Regions from separate parts of the Homo sapiens genome. Here region 2 is linked to region 1. The links are contacts of gene promoters, found by promoter capture Hi-C in human tissues and cell types (Jung and others, 2019). All regions are on one chromosome and are shown on one strand. Each heading gives the region's core, a stretch centred on a gene start or on the middle of the fragment in contact. The rest is flanking DNA. Distances are from core to core; before and after follow the strand shown.

Evidence for each region. Contacts are between HindIII fragments. The study calls those that stand out against the background at their distance.
Region 2: a contact is called between a fragment that was not itself captured here and the fragment with the promoter of PPP1R2 in region 1, in 1 of the 25 tissues and cell types used here (spleen).

The regions. Positions count from the first base shown.
Region 1 is chr3:195,539,018-195,546,277 of GRCh38, reverse strand. It overlaps PPP1R2 (protein phosphatase 1 regulatory inhibitor subunit 2), which reads left to right and starts at 2,953. Exons shown (of 6, transcript NM_006241.8): 1 at 2,953-3,374. The coding sequence starts at 3,253. RefSeq lists enhancers at 1-235, 5,875-5,984 and a silencer at 2,742-2,981. The HindIII fragment of the contact is 14,684 bases long and covers 1-5,677 here.
Region 2 is chr3:195,231,722-195,238,981 of GRCh38, reverse strand. The region is part of intron 1 of XXYLT1 (xyloside xylosyltransferase 1); the gene reads left to right. Among named protein-coding and RNA genes, the nearest start is that of XXYLT1, 36 kb to the left of the region's middle. The HindIII fragment of the contact is 4,702 bases long and covers 1,962-6,663 here.

The sequences.
Region 1 (7,260 bases), core at 1,704-4,203:
CTCTGTCCTTGGTGGGAAACCCAATGGTGGTGTCCATAGTCGTCTGTTCCAGTGAATGGAGAGCCAAATGACTCAGCCACGTGATGGGGTACAATAAAAGTGTCCCCTCTCCTCCTCCAAATATGTTGTGTTGGGTCAGGCAACCATGATAATGAAGTCTTCAAAAAGAGAGCAGAGATAAATGCCAGATTATCCTTAAATCATGTATATATCTTTAAATATATGATTTGCCTTGAGCTCAATAGCTACTTCCAGAAACTGAAACCAGAATGAAAGATTCTATCTACAATTCACCTCCTGGCAGCCAAACCCTCAACACACAGGAAATGTAACAGCAATACAGCTAAATTCAGTGCTCGGGCTGTTTGGTCCAGATAACTTCCTACAGGAGCAAACCTCAGCAGAGGCACAGAAGGAGAGCTCTGTTTAGAGGCATTTGAAAATCTTATTTGGGCCACACTGAGGAATAAAGTAGTTCAACTATTCTGAAAGATAAGGAAAAGCAGGCCATGTGTGGTGGCTCATGCCTATAATCCCAGCACTTTGGGAGGCTGAGGCGGGCAGATCACCTGAGGTCAGAAGTTTGAGACAAGCCTGGCCAACATGATGAAACCCCATCTCTACTAAAAATACAAAAATTAGCTGGGTGTGGTGGCAGGCACCTGTAGTCCCAGCTACTCGGGAGGCTGAGGCAGGAGAATCACTTGAACCCAGGAGGCAGAGGTTGCAGTGAGTGGAGATTGTGCCATTGCATTCCAGCCTGGGCGACAGAGCAAGACTTTGTCTCAAAAAAAAAAAAAAAAAAAGCAGTACTGGCCCTCACAATTTTACAAACTATTTTTTTTTAAGTGCTACCAAAGTCATCTTCATCTGCATTCATTTGTTGTGGGTTTGGGAGTGGAAGAACCAGTACAGGAGACAAAAGTTTAACTCTTGATGAGGGAAATATGTTTCCAAGGTTCTTCAGAGAACTCTTCATCACCTCCTGTTCCAATGTTTGTTAGTTAATTAACTAATAAAACACTTTATGTCATACGATCGTAGTCCCTTTCATTAGAGGGTCTGAAAGCAAGCTGTTGCTTAATCAAGGGCCCAGTCACAGTTGAGTTCAGGGATGCTGAACTCAGTGATGCTTCCCAGCCCAAGCAGGAACAAAGCAAATCTGCCCAATAATTTGGAACATACAGGGAAGTTTGTGTATTCCCTTGAAAACAGGATTGCCATCACTGACCTAGACTCCTGCTGACAGGGCAGGAGACGCAACACAGGTGTTGAACACTGGGGTGGAAAGAACTCAGGAAGGGAAGGGAGGTGGCCATCCTGCTTCCCCTCGCTGAGAACCCTCTCTCTCTGCTCCATGGGCTGGACAGGGCTGTCAGGGTGTAATGTTAGATCCACTGAGCAGTCCTGGCCTGGGAGGGAGAGACGGCACCAGTGGATATTTGACTGGGAACAAAGGTGGGGACAGTGCCAACAGTGACTGTGCAGGCCCCTGGCTGAGGCAAATCCCTGGGGAACACATTCCACTCTGTGACCAGCAACCCTGTTTCCCTTCTCCCCTTCCAGCTCACTTCCCCTCCATTATCTCCATCCACATCCATTCCCATACTGAGGCCCTGTTCTGTGCCAGGAACTCATCTAGGAGCTAGGGGCTCGGGGCCAGACGATAAAAACAATCGTTTTCAGAACCCTACAGTCATCCCTGAGGGGCAGAGTCCTAAGGACACAGAACAGGGTCATCCTCAAAAGGCACAGAGCCTGTGTTAAAGAAGATGAGACTGTGGTCCAGAGATGAGCCATGGGAGTGAAACTGCTGCTATAGGGGCTAGATAGGGGAAAACGCTTCCTCTCACCCCCCACAGCAGTGGACAGACATTGCTGGGAGCGAGGTGTCAGCTCAATCTAAGAACTCCCAGAGTCAGAGCTGTCCAAAAACAAAATGAGTTACACGGGGGTGTGGCGGGCTTCTAGCCCCTGGGGTTGTTGGAGAAACAGGCTGAATAGCCACCTTATGGGCCTGCTTGACAAGGTCCCTTCCAGGACCAGTGGTCTGTGAATCCGCAGGGGCTGGTCCACCGGAGGGGCCAGTTCTGGGTGGCTCAGTCTGCTGTGCTCTAACCTGTGGTGAGGACGATAAAAAGGCCTGATCAAGAAAGAGTCATGGAAAAGAGCCTGGTGATGAGCGAGCTGCGGACTGGACTTGGGAGAGGGAGGGAAGGGAGTGTACAGGGACCATAACAAATACCACACACGAGGTGGCTTTAAGCAATGGAAATGGGCTCTCCGTTCTGCAGGCTTGAAGTCCACATCAACCTGCGGCAGAGTTGGTTCCCTCTGTGGGGGGAACCTGTCGCGGCCTCTGCGGGCCCAGGAGGTCCTTGGCTGGGAGATGTGTCCCTGCCGCCCTCCCGTCTCCTGCGCTCTCTGCCTAGACGGGTTGTGCGACGGCGGGGGTCGCTGCCCGTCTGTCCGTCGGCTTCTCCAGCGGTAAAAGGAGGTGAGGCGATTCCAATGCAGACATTCTATGATTTCATAATAGGCCTCTAAGGACCACTCCAATGCTGGCAGTCCATGCTTTTATAATAGGCAGTTCGGCTGTTTACACGGGCGAAATGGAAAGAGGAGATACCCGTTTTCTTCAAGTCAGCTAACCTCTCTGCGGAGTGACGTCACCTCGAGTCTCAGTCTGCTGATCTAAAAAATAAAAATAACACTACGGCCTCACAAGGTGGTGGGACGAGGGTGCTCGAGAGACGCGCGGGTCCGGGAAGCAGCAAGCCCGGGCGCTCTCCCGCAGGTTCTCAGAGACAGCTCCCGCCTCCCAGCGCCGCGCGGGGGCGGGGCGAGCAGCCCGGGCGGGACGGAGGGGGCGGGGCGAGGAGGTCGGCTTTGTTCTCGCCCCGCCCTCTCCCCGCCTCCTCCCTAGATATCGCGAGAGGGCGGGTCCGCTTGGCTTCGGCGTCGCGTCGCTCCTGCGCTGGAGCTCTAGGCCGGCGTCTCTCCGCGAGCCGCGGGTCAAGTGCCAGTGGCTAAGGGTGCGCGAGTAGCCGCCACCCGTTCGGCGTTGGCTCTGGCGTCGGGGTCGTTGTGTCGTGACAACCGCTGCGGTAGCCGTTTCCGAGGCAGCAGTTGCGGCCGCTTTAGCCCTGAGCGGGATCTGCGGCTGCCTGCGAGTCTCTGCTGTGCCGACCCTTCTCTTCGCGGACCCCACGCCAAGCAGCGACCCTGAGCCGACAGCCGGAGCGCCCGGCAATGGCGGCCTCGACGGCCTCGCACCGGCCCATCAAGGGGATCTTGAAGAACAAGACCTCTACGACTTCCTCTATGGTGGCGTCGGCCGAACAGCCCCGCGGGAATGTCGACGAGGAGCTGAGGTGAGCGCTGGGAGGGACGGCCTGGGAGCCCCTCCTTCCCGCCGGGCCCGTTACCTACCCAGACCCCAGGGGCGGGCGGGCGGCGTGGATGCGGCTCGGGTGCCGCTCGAGTCTCTTCTCCTGCCCGGCTAGCCGCGGGTGGGAGCGATCTTTAAGAAGGCTGGGCGATGACGTTTATCATGCTTCCTTTTTTTTTTTTAAGCATTTGGGCATATATAATATTTTTAAACATCATCTTTGAACTTTCTGTAATCGGGAACATCAAAGAATGAAATTGAAGCTTCAGATCTTCGACTGTTAAGCTTTTACTATTTCTTAACCTCATCTCTGAGGTATCTAAAATTCTTCGATAATTACAGTGTATTTTCTTGCTTTGGGAACCCTTTAAGATCTAGTCTCAAGCTAATAGGCGATCCGTCAAAGAAGAGACCATTTCCCCCATTAGCATTGTGCCACACTGTATTTCTGCATCTGCAACCAGAGTTTTGGGTGCTTTCTAGTTTTTGTTCCTGTTCAGAGATAGATCTAAGCTCAAAACAGTTCAAAGAGGAGCAACTTGAAATGACCCAGTGGTAATTTAGTTGCTCTTGCATACGCTAAAGATACACATGTAAAAAGTTGTTGACCTGAGCATTGTATGTAATATTTATAATATAATTGGAAACGACCGGAAGTCCATTAGTAAGAGCTGGTGAAATATTAATTACGGTACGTTTGTATAATGGAACAATATACTAGCCTTTAAAAAAAGAAAGGTAGGCGTTTATGCACGGAGAAAATGTTGCAGTACAGTATCTGTAGTGGGTTAGAAGTGCACGGGGGCTTGGGCGTTGCAAGATACTAAAAATAGAAGGACTCTACTTTCTGAAAATAAGGCTTAAGAAAAGTTACCATTGAAATTGGTAGTCAGAAGCTAAAATGAGGATGTTTGTGAAATCTCAGAATATAGGAACCTAGGGCATTCCTGGATAAAGGATCTTATTTAGGACCATAAAAGGAACTACTGCTTGGTGGTGGTAAATTTTAGGGATTTGTGTTACCTTGAAGGAAATATTGAGTAGGTTCATAGGTTAGAATCGTGGCCTTTTGGGGCTGGAAAGGACCTTAGTTTTTGTCTAGCAACTCCCACGCTCATGGATGCTTGAATCTTACATTCTCTCACACACAATTTTCCAACTTCTTTGGGCTAAGCCACGTTAAATGGAGTGCTGGGGGAGTGTGATGTGTAGGTCATGGAATTAAGAAGACAGAATTTCACCAGAACATAACTGAAGCAGGAGAACCAAGTTAGTTAAAAGATAAATAACATCCAGGCGTGGTGGCTCACGCCTGTAATCTCAGCACTTGGAGAGGCCAAGGTGGGAGGATTGCTTGATCCCAGGAGTTTGAGACCAGCCTGGGCAACATAATGAGACCTCATCTCTTAAAAAAAAAAAAAAAAAAAAAAAGGAAAGAAAAGAAAAGGAATTAAAAGATAAGTAACGTAACTACAGAAGGCTCAAATGTAGCTTCAGGGTTTTCAGCAGCAGGAATGTGGTCCTTACTGGCATTTATGTTATTTAGCTGTTCTCCAGTGTGAGTTTCTTTTGGTCCATTTACCAAGTGAGTTACTCTTTATCTCTGCTTCTTTAGTTTCTGTTTATTCTTAACTTGGATCTGCTGTAATTTCCCGTGGGCCCAATCTATGGATTGGCCTCTTTCTTTCTGTAATTGGTTGGGATTTACATTCAGGTCTTTCTGCCTCAAAAGCCACTATACTAGACTGACTCAACTGCATAGGGCTGCCTCTTCTGTAGTATCTGTGGCAGGGTAGATTCACTTAAAAGGGACTGACCTGTCGAGTTAGAGTTACAGTCCTGTCTTTAAAGAGAACTATCAAACCCTAATTCATTGAAGTTCATGATGTTTGGTTCCAAGTGGTAAAAAGGATGGGTTTTTTAATGATCCTTGTTATGTGACTGTAAAGCAAATAAACTAATTCTACTAGTAATACAATATAGTCTTAGTCTGTTTTCTGTTGGTCATAACAGAATGTCTGAAATGATAATTTATAAGAAACTGAATTTATTTCTTACGGTTCTGGAGGCTTGGAAGTCCAGGGTCTTAAGGGTGCATCTGGTGAGAGCGTTTTTGCTGGTGGGGACTCTGTGGAGTTCCAAGGTGGTGCAGGGCATCACATGGCAAGGAAGCTGAGCGTGCCAGCTCAGGTCTCTCTTCCTCTTCTTATAAAGCCACCAGAACCACTCACTTGATAACCCATTAATCCGTGAATAGATTAATCCATTCATCAGAGCAGAGCCCTCATGACCCAGTCACCTTTTAAAAGCTGTGCCTCTCCACACTGCCACATTGGAGATCAAGTTTCAACGTGAGTTTCAGAGAGGACAAACGTTCAAACCATACCAAATATACATTATTATTTGTCACAAGTCATGCAAACTTTATGAGATCCTCTTTGAACAGAAACAATAAATATACAGTTGGCCCCCTCCACAAATTCAGCCAATACCAAATAGCCCTTTACACTTGGGAGCCATTTTACACACCAGATTCACCAACAAAAATGCAGGAAAGGACCCTAAATAGGCCACGAAAAGGACACTTGTTTACAGTACAAGAGCTGAAACAAGAAAGCAGAGCGTCGCCTTGTTTGACCCCATCTGGGAACATGCTACCTCGGCTGTGAACGGTGCACTGGGCAACTCAGAATCTGCCCTGCTCTGTGGCTGTCTGTGAGCAACTGCTAACGGACCTCAAATGCTAGTTTTGGGATTACACATTTTAGCAAGTAGGTAAACTTGCAAAGAAAGAATCAGAGAATAATGAGAATGAACCCTACCTTTTATAGGTGTCTTCGTTGTGTAAAATGCGATGATAGTTTGACTCCTACCCATCCCCCAGTTGTGAGAGGATGTTATTTTACGTAAATATTACCAAGGAATTTTTAAAAATAGAATTCAAACATACTTCAGATATATGTCTGTAATTCATATATGGATGTACTACTATCATTAGATAATTCTCAAAACTCAATGTCCACTTAAAGTGAGGTTTATATAAAGCCATATTCAGATAGTCTAGCATTTCTATTTTTTTATCCAATTGTCAGGACCGATCAAACCATCATTGAGGGGGGTTTTATTTTTTTAGATGACTCAGTGCTGTTATTTTCTTATTGTTTATACTTTGCATTAGTGCTTACGTCTTTTTTTGTTTATTTTTGAGACAAGATCTCATTCTGCCACCTGGGCTGGAGTACGGTGGCACGATCACAGCGCACTGCAGCCTCCATCTCCTGCTCTCAAATGATTGTCCCACCTCAGGCCACCACACCCAGCTAATTTTTGTATTTTTTGTAGAGATGGGGTTTTAGTATATTGCTCAGGCTGGTCTCAAACTCCTGGGCTCAAGTGATCTGCCTGCCTCCCAGAGTGCTGGGATTACAGGTGAGAGCCACCATGCCCCACCAGTACTTATGTCTTTAATGAGTGGTTTCTACAGGTACCATTTGTCAGATACCAATTTTTGAGGGTTAAATTAAAACTGGATAGAATCCATAAATCCACATAACTAAGTATAGATAAATCTCAGTACATTGCACCACAGCATTCAGCTGTTTTAAACACCACTGTCATCTTCGATCATTGTGGACTTCCCATTCTTTCAGGATACCTTGAATATAGGGCACAACTTATGAAGGTCTAATTTAGCAGGCCTAGTGAGTACATATGTGTATCTTAATGAAAAGAAGACACTGTTGATTCTAAGATGTACTATCCAGGAAGAAAAAATACTGCCAGCTATGATTATAAGATGCCATCCTTTTAAGACATGTTCTTTTTCAGAGATGTGAAAATGTAAAAAATGTGTTTTGGGAATTATTGAA
Region 2 (7,260 bases), core at 3,063-5,562, 310 kb after region 1:
GGGAGTGAGCTGGCTGAGGATAGCTCTTCATCTCCCTTAGTTTGGCTGCAGCAGCCCTGCTCTGCGTGTATGCCTGCGCAGATCCGTTCTTTCTCTTCCTGCTTAGTGAACACAGAGGCCTTCCCTTCTGCGAGAACCCTCTTGTCAGCTTCCAGCTTCCTGTGTAATTCGAACGGATAGGGATGATTTGGAGGGAGGGAAAAGCTGGCTTAGGAGTGAAAACTGATCTGTGGGGAGAAGGCATTTCGGGGACTGGGAGGAGGTTTGGTGCTAACACTTAGGAGTAAGCACAGTGTGGCAACCCCCGGGCTCAATGTGTGTTCCACATGGCCCTGACAGACACCACAGGAAGCATGTGGTGACAGTCCTGTATTACCCACGAAGAAACTGGGGCTCAGAGAGGTTTAGTTACTTGCCCAAAGTGCAGTTCACTTAGTTTAGCAAACCTGTATGGATGTATGGGTGGCCTGTCATGTGGCCAGTGGCTGGATACAGGGCACAGAGCAGTCACGGCCTCTGCCTACGAGGAGTGCCCCATGCAGCCGATAGAGAAACAGAGCCCTGAAAAGTGAGTCAGACAGGGTGAGTGGAGCCCCCATGCGATGCAGGGTGTTAGGAAGGGCCTGGTGAATTGTGGGAGGCTGTGGGAAGGCTGGAGGGGAGGATTGGAAAACTGGATAGGATCTTACCAGGCAGATGGGGGCTGGGAGAGGTAATTACAGACGGTGGGAAGAGCAAGTACAGGCATGCAAGGATGTAGGTCATCCAGGTGTGGCCAGTAGACGGGAGACTGCCTGGTTCAGTGCTGCCCAGTCACACGAGGCGGGGAGGTCGGGGGACGGGGCCAGAACCACTATTGCAGCGGCTTAGAGGCCTTGCTAGAGGATTCGGACTGTAACTAAGGGAGCGACGAGTCGTCGGAGGTCTTGAAGCCAGGGAGAGAGAAAAACGAATTTCTCTATTTGGAAAACAATTCTGGAGGTATAACAGAATGGGGCAGTGGGGAAGGTAGGAGGTAGGGAAACCTGTCAGAGAGGTCGCAGGGGCAGGGGTGAGAGGAAGCGGAGGGGTGTGGGAATGAGAAACATAATTTGAGATTTCTGTTGGAAAATAGCAGGAACTGGTCTGGATTCTGTGTCTGGAAAAAAGTATTAAAAACAAACAAACAACAAACAAACCAGTAGCCAGAAAAGGATAAAGGAAACGGTACCTTAGAAGAGAAGCATGAAGACATTTTTAAAAAGGCTTTTATAATGAGGCAGAAGATTTAAAGTGTTACATAAAACAAGTTTTAGGGAATGAGGAGGACCAATGTGGCATAAAAGGTTTTTATGGTTAGGCTGGAGGTGGAGCAAGGTGGCCAAACAGAAGCCTCCACCAACCATCCTCCTCACAAGAACACCAAATTTGACAACGATCTACACCAAAAAAGCACCTTCGTGGGCACTAAAAATCAGGTGAGCGATCACAGTACCTGGTTTTAACTTCATATTACCGAAAGAAGCACTGCAGAGGGTAGGAAAGACAGTCTTGATCACTGACTCCATCCCTGTGGCGGTGGCCACATGGTGCTCAGAGAGAACCTGTGTGACGGGGAAAGGAGAGTGCAGCAGTTGTGGGACTTTGCATTGGAACTCATTGCTGCCAGCAGTGGGTAGAACTCAGCCGATGCCCACGGAGGGAGCATTTAGACCAGCCTAGACAGAGGAGAATCACCCATCTCAGCAGTCAGAACTTGAGTTCCAGCAAGCCTTGTTACCATAGGTTAAAGTGTTCTGGGTTCTAAATAAACCAGGCCACAAGGACTGCAACACCCAGGTGAGTCCTAGTGCTGTGCTGGGCTCAGAGCCAGTGGACTTGGGGGTTACATGACCTAATGAGACACCAGCCAGGGTGGCTCAGGGAGCACTTGCATCCCCTATCCCCCAAACCCAGGCAGCGCAGCTCACAGCTCCAAAAGAGACCCCCTCCTTCTGTTAGAGGAGAGGAGAGTAAAGAGGACTTTGTCATGCAACTTGGGTACCAGCTCAGTCACGGTAGGATAAGGCACCAGGCAGAGTCATGAGGCCCCCATTCCATGCCCTAGATCTTAGATGACATTTCTAGACACCCTGGGCCAGAAGGGAGCCTACTGCCCTGAAGGGAAGGACCCAGTAATGGCAGGAATCATCACCTGCTGACGAAAGAGCCCCTGGACCCTGAATAATCAGCAGTGGTAACCAGGTAGTACATACCATGGGCCTTGGGTGAGACTCTGAGACCTGCTGGCTTCAGATGGGATCCAGCACATTCACAGCTGTGGTGGTTAACGAGGAGAGACTCCTTCTGCTTGAGTAAAGGAGAGGGAAGAATAAAGGGGACTGTGTCTCGCAGCTTAGATACCAGCTCAGACATAGGGGGAGCACCAACTGGGCCCTTGGGGTCCCCAGTTCCAGGCCTTGGCTCTGGGATAGCATTTCTGGACCTACCCCAGGCCAGAGGGGAGCTCACTGCCCTGAAGAGAGTCCCAGGACTGGCAGCATTCACCACAAGCTGACTAAAGAGTCCTTGGGCATTAAGTGAACATTGGTGGCGCTCTGGCAGCACTCCCCATGGGCCTGTGGTGGTACTGGACACAGGGAGAGAGTCCTCTGCCTGGAGAAAGAGGAGGGAAGAGTGGGAAGGACTTTATCTTGTGGTTTTGTTGCCAGCTTAACCGCAGTAGAATAGAGCACCAGGCAGATTTCTAGGGCTTCCGATTGCAGGCCCTGGCTCACAGATAGCATCTCTGGACCTGCCTGGGGCCCAAGAGAACTCACTGCCCTTAAGGGAAGGACACAAGCCTGGCAGTCTTTGCCACCTGCTAATTGTAGGGCCCTAGGGCCTTGATTGAACATAGAGAGTAGTCAGCTAGTGGTTATAGCAGGCCTCGGGCAAAACTCAGTGGTGTGCTGGCTTCAGATCTGACCAAGTGCAGTCCCAGTGGTGATAGTGACAGGGGTGTCACCCCTCCCCAATCTCCAGGCAGCCCAGCCAGGTGTATATCTCTATGTCTATGTCTATGTCTATGTCTATGTCTATGTCTATGTCTATGTCTATGTCTATGTCTATATATTTATAGATATATAGAGAGATTGCATTCATCTGGGAGATAGGGAAGAGAACAAGTAATTCGGAGAATTCTTCCAGATGTGATCTAAGACCATCAAGGTGGTGCATCTACAAATCTGCAAGAACCACGGCATTGCTGGGCTTGGTATGCCCCCTAATGCAGATACAGCTGCAGTGACCAAAAACTTAGATCACAACACCCACGTCCTTTGAATACCTGGAAAGCCTCCCCAAGAAGGATGAGTACAAACAAACCCAGACTGCAAAGACTACAATAAATACCTAACTCTTCAATGGCCAGACACCTACAAACATCCACTAGCATCAAGACCATCCAGGAAAATAGGACCTCACCAAGTGAACTAAATAAGGCACCAGGGGCCAGTCTTGGAGAAACAGAGATATGTGATCTTTCAAACAGAGAATTGAAAATAGCTGTTTTGAGGAAACTCAAAGAAATTCAAGATAGCACAGAGAAGGAATTCAGAATCCTATCAGATAAATTTAACAAACAAATTGAAATAATTAAAAACAGTCAAGCAGAAATTCTGGAGCTGAAAAATGCAATTGACTTACTGAAGAATGCATCAGAATCTCCTAATAGTAGAATTAATCAAGTAGAAGAATGAAATAGTAAACTTTAAGAGGCTATGTGAAAATACACAGTTAGAGCTGGGAGGATGGCTTGAGCCTGGGAGGCAGAGGTTGCAGTGAGGCAAGATTGCCCCACTGCACTCCAGCCTGGATGACAGAGCCAGACCCTGTCTCAAAAAAAGAAAGCAAGAGAGCGAGAAAAGAAAGCAAGCAAGAAAGAACAGTCAGAGGAGACAAAAGAAAGAGTAAAAAAGAATGAAGCTTGCCTACGAGATCTGGAAAATTGCCTCAATGGGGCAAATCTAAGAGTTACTGGCTTTAAAGAGGAGGTAGAGAGAGAGACAGCAGTAGAAAGTTTATTTAAAGGGATAATAACAGAGAACTTCCCAAACCTAGAGAAAGATATAAATATTCAAGTACAGGAAGGTTATAGAACACCAAGCAGATTTAGCCCAAAGACGTCTACCTCAAGGCATTTAATAACAAACTCTCAAAAGTCAAGAATAAAGAAAGGATCCTAAAAGTAGCAAGATAAACAAATGACATAAAATAGAGCTCCAGTACGTCTGGCAGCAGACTTTTTGGTGAGAACCTTACAGGCCAGGAGAGAGTGGCATGACATACTTAAAGTGTTGAAGGGAAAAAACTTAAATAGCATATATGGCAAAAATATCCTTCAGGCTGGGTGCGGTGGCTCATGCCTGTAATCCGAGCACTTTGGGAGGCTGAGGCAGGTGGATCACTTGAGGTCAGGAGTTCAAGACCAGCCTGGCCAAGATGGTGAAACCCCGTCTTTACTAAAAATATAAAAATTAGCCAGGCATGGTGGCAGACGCCTGTAATCCCAGCTACTTGGGAGGCTGAGGCAGGACAATCGCTTTAATCTGGGAGGCAAGAGGTTGCAGTGAGCTGAGATTGTGCCACTGCACTCCAGCCTGGGCGACAGAGTGAGACTCTGTCTCAAAAAAAAAAAAAAAAAAAAAAAAAATCCTTCAAACATGAAGGAGAAATAAAGACTTACCCAGACAAACAAAAGCTTGATGGATTTCATCAATACCAGACCTATCGTACAAGAAATGCTGGCCAGACGCAGTGGCTCACGCCTGTAATCCCAGCACTTTGGGAGGCCGAGGCAGGCGGATCACAAGGTCAGGAGATCGAGACCATCCTGGCTAACATGGTGAAACCCCGTCTCTACTAAAAAAAAAAAAAAATTAGCTGGGCGTAGTGGCGGGCGTCTGTAGTCCCAGCCACTTGGGAGGCTGAGGCAGGAGAATGGCATGAACCTGGGAGGCGGAGCTTGCAGTGACCCGAGATCGCACCACTGCACTCCATGCTGGGTGACAGAGTGAGACTCCATCTCAAACAAAACAAAACAAAACAAAAATGCTAAAGGGATTTATTTAGTCTGAAATAAAAGGATGTTAATGAGCAATAAGAAATCATCTGCAGGTGAAAAGTTCACTGGTAATGGTGCAGAGAAAAACACAGACTGTTAAAACACTATAATTGCAATGTGTATATTTCTGATATCTTAAGTACAAAGATGAAAAGATAAACCAATCAAAAATAATAACTTTTCAAGACAGTACAGCAAGATGTAAATAGAAACAACAAAAAGTTAAAAAGTGGGGAGATGAAGTTATAGAGTTTTTATTAGTTTTCTTTTTGCTTGTTTTTTAGTATGTTTGTTTATGTAATCAGTGTTAATTTGTCATCAGTTTAAAATAATGTGTTATAAAATATTATTTGCAAATCTCATGGCAACCTCAAGTCTAAAAACATACAATGGATATGAAAAAGTAAAAAGCATGAAAATAAAACATAACACCAGAGAAAATCACCTTTACTAAAAGGGAAGACCAGAAAACAGCTAGAAAACAAATAACAAAATGGCAGGAGTAAGTCCTTACTTAATCAATAATAACATTGAATGTAAATGGAGTAAACTCTCCAATCAAAAGACAAAGAGTGAATGAATAGATTTTTTTTAAGACCCAATGATCTATTGCCTACAGGAAACACACTTCATTTATAAAAACACACATAGACTGAAAATAAAGGTATGGCAAAAGATATTTCATGCCAACGGAAACCAAAAAGGAGCAGAAGTAGCTATACTTATATCAGATAAATCGATTTCAAGAAAAAAATATAAAAAGAGACAAGTTTGTTGTATAATGATAAAGGGGTCAATTCAGCATAAGGATATAACAGTTATATATGCATCCAACACTAGTGCACTCAGATATATAAAGCAAATATTATCAGAGTGAAAGATGGAGATAGACCCCAATACAATGATAGCTGGAGACCTCAACACCCCACTTTCAGCATTGGACAGATCATCCAGACAGAAAATCAACAAAGAAACATCAGACTTAATCTGCACCATAGACGAAATGGACCTAATAGATACTTACAGAACATTTCATTCCATAGTTGCAGAATACACATTCTTCTGCTCAGCACATGGATCATTCTCAAGGATAGACCATATGCTAGGTTGCAAAACAAATCTTAAAACATTCCAAAAAACTGAAATAATATCAAGTATCTTCTCTGACTACAATGGAATAAAACTAGAAATTAATAACAGGAATTTTGGAAACTATACAAACACATGGAAACTGAACAATATGCCTCTGAATGACCAGTTGGTCAATGAAGAGGTTAAGAAAGAAATTGAAAAATTTCTTGAAACAAATGATAATAGAAACACAACATACCAAAACCTATGAAATACAGCAAAGCAGTACTAAGAGAAGTTTATGGCTATAAATGCCTACATCAAAAAAGAAGAAAAAGTTCAAATAAACCACCTAATGATGCGTCTTAGAACTAGAAAAGCAACAGCAAACCAAACCCAAAGTTAGTGGAAGAAAAGAAGTAATAAAAATTAGAGCAGAAATACATGAAATTGAAACAGAGTAAACAATACAAAAGATCAATGAAATGAAAAGTTTTTTTTTGGTATTTTGAAAAGATAAAATTGACAAACCTTTAGCCAGACTAAGAAAAAAAAGAGAGAAGACCCAAATAAATAAAATCAGAGATGAAAAAGGAGATATTACAACTCATACTGCATAAATTCAAAGGATCATTAGTGGCTACTGTGAACAACTATATACCAATAAATTGGAAAACCTAGAAGAAATGGATAAGTTTCTAGACACATACAACCTACTAAGATAGAATCATGAAGAAATCCAAAATCTGAACAGACCAATAACAAGTAATTAGATCAAAGCCATAATAAGTCTCCTAGCAAAGAAAAGCCAAGGATGCAATGGCTTCTCTGCTAAGTTCTACCATTTAAAGAAGAAGTAATACCAACCCTACTCAAACTATTCTGAAAAATAGGGGAGGAGGGAATACTTCCAAACTCATTTTATGAGGCCAGAATTACCCTGATACCAAAAACCAGACAGACACATCAGTAAAAGAAAACTATAGGCTAGTATCCCTGATGAACACTGATGCAAAAATTCTCAACAAAATGCTAACAAACCAAAGTCAGCAGTACATTTAAAAAAAAAAAAAAATCATTCATCATGACCAAGTGGAATTTATCCC